Linked DNA regions of Homo sapiens: regions 2, 3 and 4 are each linked to region 1. Evidence: promoter capture Hi-C in 16 types of primary human blood cells and fetal thymus (Javierre and others, 2016). All regions are on one chromosome and are shown on one strand. Each heading gives the region's core, a stretch centred on a gene start or on the middle of the fragment in contact. The rest is flanking DNA. Distances are from core to core; before and after follow the strand shown.

The links. The method cuts DNA at HindIII sites, captures the fragments that hold promoters and counts their contacts. A CHiCAGO score of 5 or more calls a contact.
Region 2: a fragment that was not itself captured here is called in contact with the fragment with the promoter of CTLA4 in region 1 in 1 of 17 cell types (M0 macrophages); the score reaches 6.1 in M0 macrophages.
Region 3: a fragment that was not itself captured here is called in contact with the fragment with the promoter of CTLA4 in region 1 in 2 of 17 cell types (M2 macrophages and M0 macrophages); the score reaches 5.4 in M2 macrophages.
Region 4: a fragment that was not itself captured here is called in contact with the fragment with the promoter of CTLA4 in region 1 in 1 of 17 cell types (total CD4 T cells); the score reaches 5.5 in total CD4 T cells.

What each region holds. Positions count from the first base shown.
Region 1 is chr2:203,866,504-203,869,070 of GRCh38, reverse strand. It overlaps CTLA4 (cytotoxic T-lymphocyte associated protein 4), which reads right to left and starts at 1,300. Exons shown (of 4, transcript NM_005214.5): 1 at 1,020-1,300. The coding sequence starts at 1,128. The HindIII fragment of the contact is 240 bases long and covers 1,194-1,433 here.
Region 2 is chr2:205,711,353-205,713,919 of GRCh38, reverse strand. The region is part of intron 2 of NRP2 (neuropilin 2); the gene reads right to left. Among named protein-coding and RNA genes, the nearest start is that of NRP2, 30 kb to the right of the region's middle. The HindIII fragment of the contact is 698 bases long and covers 945-1,642 here.
Region 3 is chr2:205,694,858-205,697,424 of GRCh38, reverse strand. The region is part of intron 1 of NRP2 (neuropilin 2); the gene reads right to left. Among named protein-coding and RNA genes, the nearest start is that of NRP2, 14 kb to the right of the region's middle. RefSeq lists an enhancer at 1,127-1,961. The HindIII fragment of the contact is 9,122 bases long and covers 1-2,567 here.
Region 4 is chr2:202,645,998-202,648,564 of GRCh38, reverse strand. The region is part of intron 1 of FAM117B (family with sequence similarity 117 member B); the gene reads right to left. Among named protein-coding and RNA genes, the nearest start is that of FAM117B, 12 kb to the right of the region's middle. The HindIII fragment of the contact is 547 bases long and covers 1,014-1,560 here.

The DNA.
Region 1 (2,567 bases), core at 51-2,550:
CTTTCCAGTATTGGGAGGGTCCTGTTACTGGTTGAGATAAATTTACTTTAGGAAATTTAAATACTTCTAAGAGTGTTTATTTAATCTTTACATATTTAAAACATGTAAAAATAAGAAAACATATATGAATATTTCTTCTCCAGTAAAAATTAAATCATCAAATATCTTTTGAGTACCTACTTCATACAAACTACATGGTTTCTTAACCAAGAAGGTCTAGAGAGAGATAAGGTTGAGATTCAATGGATATACTCATCATTTTAAGCCGTGTAACAAACCTGGTGTCAGTCTCTGAAGAGCTGAAAACTGAGGATCTGCATCTGAAACCCACACGTAGGTCAGGCAACAATTAAGTATTGTATGCCAAACAGACTGGTGGCTTTCTTTCTTTCCTTTTCCTTGTCTTTTTTTTTTGGCAATTTCAAACTTTTATTTTTAAATAATTGGCTAATTAGCTAGTAGAATTGATTAAGAGAACCTTAAAACCTTGAATTAAGTAAAGAAGGCATTCTTCCCACAATTTCCCTACATTTTAAACAAGCTGGCTAATTCATTTATAAAGTATATGAATCCGAGGACCTTAAAACCTTGAATTGTATAGCAAAAAAACTCTTCCCAGGATTTGCTTAAGTCAATTTTTTTTAAAGGAACTTGTGAGCTCATCCTGAAACCCAGCTCAAATGTATTCAGGACTATGGCTATCCTTTCCCTCTTAAATCACTTCCAGTCTCATAGAAGGGTCTGAAATTGCCTGTGTCTCTCTACTAAACCAACTCACATGCATTCATGAAGCCCCTACTAAATACCTGGCGCTCTGTTCTGAGCTATCTCTTTGCCTTATTTGCTGCCGCCCAACTGCTCCCTGCTGGCCCTGGAATACAGAGCCAGCCAAGCCAGATTGGAGTTTTACCTTTAACTTCTGGCTTTGCTATAAATCACTGCCTTTGACTGCTGAAACAAATGAAACCCAGGTAGGAGAAACACCTCCTCCATCTTCATGCTCCAAAAGTCTCACTCACCTTTGCAGAAGACAGGGATGAAGAGAAGAAAAAACAGGAGAGTGCAGGGCCAGGTCCTGGTAGCCAGGTTCAGCTGAGCCTTGTGCCGCTGAAATCCAAGGCAAGCCATGGCTTTATGGGAGCGGTGTTCAGGTCTTCAGGAAGTAGAGCAAAACCTTTCAGGATCCTGAAGCTTTGAAATGTGTTTGAACCCACACAGAATCAAGGACTTTATATAGATAGCTTTGATCCCAGATATGTATTACACATGTGCACACACAGAAGGCACTTGAATAGAAAGCCTTTTTGTTTTGGTTTTACGAGAAAGGAAGCCGTGGGTTTAGCTGTTACGTCGAAAAGACAACCTCAAGCACTCAACTGAACAAAACAAGCCAATCCATGGATGGAAAATGTATTCAATTTGAAACTGAAGCTTCATGTTCACTTTGAGGATCTGGATAACTAAGTGGAGACTTGGAGAATTTCCTGGAGTACAAGGGTCCTCCTAAATCCCAATTTTATTCAATCTTCTGGGCATCCTTAACCATCCAGTCCAATTCATTTCATTGACAACTCCAAAACTACTAGGCTGCTAACTTTCTGAGCCCTTGGGCTAATGGCAGGATTTGTCTAGGCATCATTAATAAAAACTGTATTCTATCTGTGAAGCACCATCCTTCTAATGGTCCCTTGACAGCTTTACAAATAAGTTTATTTCTCCTAAATCCATTTAGCATTTGGTTAAGAGAAAAAAACTAAAATCACAAGAAATAAACTGAAAATAGGCGGAAAAGAAGCTGCCTCTGGTTTTGCAGAAGGAAAGAATTCAGGTGTTCTTAAAAGCCTTAACTCAACAGAGACAAAACAGAGTTGAAGAAGGTCCAAAGAAAAGCCAACCCAAATGATTCAAGAGATTAGAGCCGTCCATAAAAGGATAGACTTTTTTTTCTAATACAAATTTTTCAAGCAGAAAATTCAAAAGTGAAGATTAAATATAACCAGAGTCCTTAAATTTGTGACAGCTGTAGACAGGACCAATGATCTAACAAAAAGAATTTGAAACATTGAGGACCTTCCTTAAATCTGGAGAGTTTTCATACATTTTAATAAAGAAAGAAACATTCATGGGGAACCTGTAATATGCCCGGAATTCTGTGCACTTAGGATTGAATGATGACAAAACAAAAACATAGTTGATACCTTAAGGGGCTTCTAGAAGGCTGACATGCAAACAGACAGTTGTAACAGGGAATATGACATTTGCCTACTCCAGTCCGTCCATGGTTTCCCATTGTCCACACCTCAGCACAGCAGAGGAGACTCTGCAGAATACTCACCAAATGCCTCCCTCTTTGGCCTGTACCCCAGCATTCCCTCCCATTCCCCCTTCCTGCATTTGTCTTTCCTTCCACGTGCCTCTTTCAGGCCTCATCACCTTTACCCATGCTGTTCCTACTGCCTTTTTTCTCCTATTATCTTATTTTATACTCCTTCTCATCCTCCAGGACTTAGCTCAGCTGTCATCTCCTCCAGGAAGCCTCTTCTTTTTTTTTTTAAAATTTTATTATT
Region 2 (2,567 bases), core at 44-2,543, 1.8 Mb before region 1:
ATATGTACATAGCCTTTAATCCAGCAATCCTACTGCTAGGAATTTTTCCTAAGAAAATAATCAGACAATTGTGCAAAGATGCATATGCATCTTTGTGCATATATTTTGAAAAAATATAAAAAGTGGGAGGATATTTTGCTTATAAATGGTTTCAAAGCCCAACCGTAGAGGGAGGGTGAATCCATCTGGGATATTTATAAAATGGAATACTCTCCTGCTACAATCAATAGTCTGCAGGTCTAGAATTTTTTGTTTTTATGGAAAAATGTTCACGCTATACTGTTAACTTTTTAAAAAGGAGATTTTTTAAAAGTATGTTTTAAAAGGTATACATACATTTCCTCACATAAACATACAGAGGAAGTCTGAAAGACTACTAAAATATGAACAATGGCGACAGACATGGGTGGTAGGATAATTGGTAATTTTTTCTCTCTTCTTTGTAAAAGAATCCAGCTGTCATGATTTAGCAGATGTAGAAGGAAGTTCATCATCATCACCATCATCATCCATGTCACAGAACTGGAGTGAGGAATAAATGAGACACAGTAGGTCGGGACATCTGGAACAGTGCCAAGGACATGACCCACATTCAATAAATAATTTTTTAAACTTTTTTTTTAAAGCTTCACCAGATAGTTCCAGTCTTTGTGTTGCCAATTTCTCTAGGAAGGACAAAGAGAGGCCCTGCCATCCCACTGGCTTGTTCATCAGAAGTGAGAGGGTTTTATCTGGTTGCCTAATCACCCATGGAGTCATTTAGGGGATTAACAGAATCAGCAATGAAGCAGGGCTGCCCAACAAATGCCACTGTTACAAGCTTGCCTCAATTTACTCAACGGATACAGACCACCCCAAATCCCTTCTTGTAATGCTGCCTGCAACAAATACATCCTTATGTATCTAACACACATATAGAGAAGGGATGCATTTTTGAAAAAGCTTCATATAATTCAATCATACTATAAATTTTTTCTCTGAGCTTGTTAGTTAAAGGACCCCTCTGCTGAATCCTTTTGTGAAGCAAATAATCAACAAACCTTACTTGAACTTCTTAGAAAAACTAGATTTTTCTATAAGGTTTGCTTGAGGGGAAGTGACACAGAGTTACAGTTCGGCAGCTGAAATCCCCCCAACTTCCAGTCTTCTGGTTCTGCCCTGTGGACAAGCCCCACTTAACCACATGGTCTTCTGGCTGGGCCTTTTATATAAAGGGCACACTCCAAATGACATGCTGACTTCATACAGAATGTCTCATTTACCTCCTGTGTGACTGACTCATTTGGGGAAATTTTTTATTATGAGGGATTTGCTACAGCTGGAGTAAATCTCCTTAGAAATTTCAGTGTTGTCAGGTTCATTTGTGAAGAGTTAGGCAGAGGCTTAGGAAGTTTCTGGCTTTGGAATAAATACGGCTTTGCATCTAGTGTCTAATATCCAGTGTTTGGTAAAGGAATCCGGGGTACAGACTCAGAGCTCACCCCAACGATAGTCAAGTAGGATAACTTGAAAAGCTGCTCCTCTTAGAACGTATCACTCGTTTTCCAGAAGGCAACATAAACCAGCTAACAGACATATTAACTAGAGTGTTTGCATTTCATTATCCATAATCTCTCCTAAACGAAAAATTCCTTTCAAAGCTTTAACACTACCTTGTATTGTTTTATTTATTTTTTTCCTGAGCTGAAGTAGCCATCTCTACTCCCAGTTCTTTATTTTCTCTCTAAAACGGTTCCCCGAGTGCCTTTTTATTTGTCTCCTCACAGATTCTGAAGTCTGCATGGTGAGCATTTGTCTAGAGAATGCTTTCTCTACTTTCTTTCTCAACTTCAAAGTCTTACATTTCTCTCCCCAAACCTACATTTGGGCCATGGGAAATTTTGACAGTGAAGTTAATTTTAAGAGTCCACGGGAGAGATATGAAAAAGCAACAATCTCATCTCTTCCTCTCATCACTAGGCAAACATGAAAAAGGGCTTTCTAGTTTCCATAACTGTCTCCACGCTTGACACTTCCCAGCAGGGCACCAAAGGCTGGGTTAGTCAACGGAGCCTGTGCTGGAAGATTCACCAAGCTTAGGTCCTTCTCTCAGGGCACCGAAATGTCTGGCCCTTGTCAGAATCCAGCTTTAGGGATGCCACACAGAACCACTTGGAAGGGGATTTCTGTATCGAAGATAGAGTACTTAGGTCTTCGGAGGAAGAATACTCTGCCCCTTCTTTTGGGTCTACGTATCAGAACATCTCTGCCCAAGTCCTGACATCATAACCTTTGCCAACCAAGCAAGGCCTCCTTTCACACTGCTCATCATAAGATCATAAGATGTTGAAGACATTTTGTATATGGTGAGCTCTTTCCAACCCCAGGGCCTTTGCAAGCGCTCTTTCCTCTGCCTGCAGTACTCCTCATTGGTGCTTTCCAGGGCTGGTTGTTGCTCATCCTTCAGGCTTAAGGACAAATGTTACCTCCACAGAGAAGCCTGCTGTCACCACCCTATTTCAGATGGCATGCCCTTATTCTCTATCTCACCATCATCTTACTTCTTTCATAGCTATGATTATAATCTG
Region 3 (2,567 bases), core at 32-2,531, 1.8 Mb before region 1:
GCAGTCCAGAAGACTAACCTACTTACTCATTCGGTGGAAGAGATTATTCCGGCTCATCCCTCCCCCTACCCACCCAACTACACACACACACACACACACACACACACACACAGATGAAAGTATTCCAGAACATGGCCATAAATATTCTCAATTACATGGTCTGTGATTAAAAAAACAAGAGGACTGCAAACTCAACATGCCTCCCTGCCTTTCCTGCCTCCCCTCCTTGGCCCATCTTCCTCTCCTCATTCAACCTCCTATCTCTATCTTTATCTCATAAATCCTTCATTTTATTCGGTGTCTCCCAGCCCAGCCCAGGCAGCCAGCAGTCAGGGCTCTGGGAACTGACAATGGTGGTTTTGTGGTGCCGACCCACAAGCGAGCCTGGTAACAATTACATGTGGTGCAGAGGAAGCACTTTCAGCTTTGGGCCAGAACAGGCCCTGGAGGGTGATTGCAGCCTTTTTAAATTTTTTTTTAAGAAAAAAAATGCAAACCCCCCAAACATTTAATTCCATATATACCACAAATTTGATTTATTATTTCATTATACACCGAATGGAAAAATCTGTATTAGAGAATCTACTGGCTCTAGCCTTGGAATTTCGACAAAGGTGCTTTGTGTTGAATGAACATCTGTTTCTTCTGCGCTGTCTGCCCACTGTCCCTCCTGCCTGGTCACCACCACCAGAGTGTGCTGCTGCTTTGTCCAGCCATAACTGGCCGTTTGCAGGAAGGGCTGGCTCCCTGTACCTGCAGTGCCTGGCTGGAGGCAGACAGCTTCATGTGGCCTGGGAGGGAAGGGAGCCACCTTCAAAGGCTCCAAAGGTGGGTGATGACATTTGAGGAATCTCATCTATTCGGGAGTAAAGTTCTGCAATCCCCAGCAGGGATTCTTGGGAAATAGGGAGTTTTGCTTAAATACCACAGTAGAACAGAAGCTGGGAAGGCACATGAGACATGGAAATATTCAGAAGCCTCTCGGAGACCTTCCTGAGATGTGTGTGTCTCTTAGCATCAATCACGATTTAATATCGCCATCTGCATGGAGCAGCATGGGCCCGTGAATTATGTATTACGACTCAGCAGCCGCCCTCCAGGATGGGTCTTTCTCCTGTGTTCACTCTTTGAGGGAACAGGTCATGCATTTTTTAACTCTACAGGTGCACTTTACTATTCCCCATGTCTGTTGGCATTACTATCTCCCAGACCTCTGCTTTAGACTACCGGCCTGACAGGCTTTAAATGCATAAAAGATGGGCACGCTGCACACGGGTGGTTGGGACACAAATCCACACAAGTAGCCTTTTCGGCATCAAGCCTCCACGAGCTCAAACTGTGCCGTATTGAACTGCCCAGAATGGAATGAATTCAGGTCCATTTCCTACTGGGTGGAAAACAAAAGCAGCCGTTTCCTCAGGCTGGTACACAGCACATCATCTTCTTACCTAATGACCCTGCACCCACCCCAGCCCATGAAGACAATGAGCTCATCCCTCCCACCCAGACCACATGAGGCCAGCCATGAGGCCCAGCTCCTCTGCAGCCAATACCCATAGGCTTTCCAGGTGCCCACACCACTCACCCATGCTGGGAACCTAATGTCATCTAGCCAGCCAAATTGAGGCCCGTTGGTCCTGGCTTATGCACATGAAATAGGGTGGAGTGGTCCTCTGAGAAGGCAGAGGTGTGAGGACATAGATCACCAGCTGCTCTTACTCAACTAGCAGAAGGGGGAATTTTCTACCGGGTCCAGCTCCTCTGCCAGATATTTTGCAGAAAACTGCAGCCCTGCCACCAACTCACCCCAAACCACACTTTTTTGCCTTGGAATTCGTCAGAGGAAACCTGAGCTGAGCTCCTGTTTAGTAACTGTTATGGTTTCCACATACTCTCCACTCTCCCTACCCACACTCTCTCCCTCCTTTCCCCATCCCTTCCTCTACTTCTCTCCAATTACTCTTGAAAGGGGAACTTTTCTCCCTCAATTCCCCACACCCCAGGTTTAAACTTTTAGTAATTAGACCAGGCACACAGATCAGCAATAAAGACAGGAAACTTCTTCGCAGGAAGGTTTAATTTCTCATCTACAGCAGAAGTGATCATTTCTTCACCACCACCACACAAAAAAATTAAACTATATATATATCCCATAGCTGATAGTCTGTACTGTCTGCTGTTAAACCAAAAGAAAAAGGAGTCATCCATTGCTTTTTTTCTATCCTTTCTTTACCTGGAGAAAATCAGGGCAGTTATTGAAGTATCAGAGAACTCATTAGAACATCTGCTTCAGTTGTGTGTTGGTAACCTTTTCAATACTTACAAATTTATAAATTCACATTCTTGTTTGGCTTGCATTCACACCCAGAAACACACACAAACATAGATATTGAACATACTTCAAGTACATATACATATCAGTAATTCACACTTTAGTCCTATACATACGTTCACACCTTCTCATAAAATATCACACATCATTTGCACAAACATATATCCACAAAGATAAATACTAGAATTTCTGTTTTTATTTTTCTTGGAGAGAACAGAATTCTTGAAACATATCA
Region 4 (2,567 bases), core at 38-2,537, 1.2 Mb after region 1:
ACATACATACATATATATATATGTATTTTTTGTTTTGGGGGGGGGGTGGGGACAGAGTCTCGCTCTGTCACCCAGGCTGCAGTGCAGTGGCGCAATCCTGGCTCACTGCAACCTCCACCTCCCAGGTTGAAGCAATTCTCCTGCCTCAGCCTCCCAAATAGTTGGGACTACAGGCGCACACCGACCGCTATACTCGGCTAATTTTTTTCTGTATTTTAGTAGAGACGGGGTTTCACCATGTTGCCCAGGCTGGTCTCGAACTTCTGAGCTCAGGCAATCTACACATCTCGGCCTCCCAAAGTGCTAGGATTAAAGGCATGAGCCAACAAGCCCAGCTGACATATGCATATATCTGAATATACATAGAATAGCTCTGGAATTATACAAAGAAACAACTGGATTTCTCTTGAGAAGAATGAACTGAGACAAACAGCAAGAAGACTGCTGACTGTATTCTCCTTACCATTTATAATTTTTATCATGTGCACATTATTGCCTGCAAAGAAAGAATGGAGTAGGGGAGAGAGGAGAGGAAAGAGAGACACATTCTGGTAGGTAAATTAAACCATACAATTACAGAGTTAGTTCCTTGAGGGCGAAGACTCCAAGCAGCAGCCTATACTAGCTCATGAAGAAGAAGAAAAATGTCAGTAAATTTCTTTTGGGTTAAACTAGCACTAATTTCATCTCAACTGCTACATGCCAGCCTCAATCAAAAAAATGTCAGATACTTCCTATTAAATAATACTAACAGAATAAAAATACATAAACTCACTAGAACAATACACGGGAAAAGAGGCAAGAGCAAAAACAAGTTTTCAACCAAGTTGTTTTGGAAGCAGATGTTTAGGTGATAACTTTGCTGCAGCCTGATCCTATGCTCCACCCAAGATTTCCTCATCTGCCCCAAAATAAGTTCTAGATTTCTATGGAAAGAATAAAGTCTTGTCATTCACATGTAAGCGATGAATATTTTGCTGTAGTTTTCAAATTCTCATATGCATCAACAAGCTTCTTCTTGTTTAACAAGCATCAAGATCAAAGAAGAAAGTTTCATTTCAGTTGAATATGAAATCTGGGTGTGCTCATTTCAAGCTCAACCCAGAACTGAGTATTTGTACAGAAAAAAATATATATACACGTTTTGTTGAAATAAATAAACTGTTTTTTTCAGTTTTGAAAATATCACTTTTTATGTACAGGTCTAGAATAGAGACCAAGAAATCGCCACACATTAATAATTCTGCTAGACCTATATTTGACACAGATCTTGTTACAGAAAAAGAAATTTTTGAAGCTCTCAGATAAAATTGTGTTAAGCTATATTTTTTTATATTGCCTTGCTTTATGGTTTTAGTAGCTTTTACTATAAACATTATAAATTTTCCTATTGTAAAAAATAACTTTACTAAGTTCATTTAAATTAAATATACCTTTAGAAAAAATAAATCCCATTTTGTCTTATATAAATTATTTAATCAAAACATTATGGTTGCCTTATAAGTTTTTAAAAATCTAAGAAAAGGGAAGAGATTAATTTCAAGAAAGGTAAGCTAAGCTTAACTGCACATTTTCCCCCAAAAAAAGTTAGTTAAAAATAACATGTTTAGTCTTAAAAGCTGGCTGGGGGTGTGCCTCTTGTACATACCCTAGATCACATAATATCTCATTAGCATCTTGTATACTAAAAACTGGGGATAAAACTATTGTTATCACTTAAACAAGGTAAAAAAAAATCATACAGGAATTTCTTTAGAAGGAAAAACTAAAGTTTCCTTTACTTCACTACTCACTTGCAATAATGATGATATCCTTAGGGGAGAGAGGAAAACCATACAAAATGAATAGGCTAATAAGATGGTCAAATAAACAGATTCATAGAGAAACCACTCGTACTCAAAAGAGCATAAATTATTACTAGAGCAATATATCTCAACTTCCTGGTGACAAATGCCTGGGTTCCCTGAGAAATGGAAACGATGCCAAGGAGTCTCCAGAACAAAAAGATTGGGAAAATCTGCGCTATAGAAATTAACGAGACAGGCTCTGGACTTAAGGACACTACACATATCCTTAGGCATGATACTGAGGTCTCTTCCCTGGGGAAACTGGCCCAAGAGAAGAAAAAAAACCTACTTTTGGGAGTCCCTGCGTCTTCTTTCTAGAGTAACATGCTCCAGACAAGCAGCCTGATCTAAACACAGAAAACATTTAATCAGCATTTTAATGTCTCACTTAAATATTAATAGAAAGTGGCCAGGCCAAGCGGCTCACGCTTATAATCCCAACATTCTGGCTGGTGGAGACAGGCGGATCACTTGAGGTCAGGAGTTCAAGACCAGCCTGGCCAACATGGTGAAACCCACCAAAATTAGCCAGGTGTAGTGGTGTGCCCCTGTAGTCGCAGCTACTCAGGGGGCTGAGGTGGGAGAATTGCTTGAACCCGGGAGGCGAAGGCTGAAGTGAGCCAAGATAGTGCCACTGCACTCCAGCCTGGGCAACGGAGCAAGACTCCATCTCAAAAAAAAAAAAACAAAAAACTTTTAGGCATTAACAGGACAAAGAAC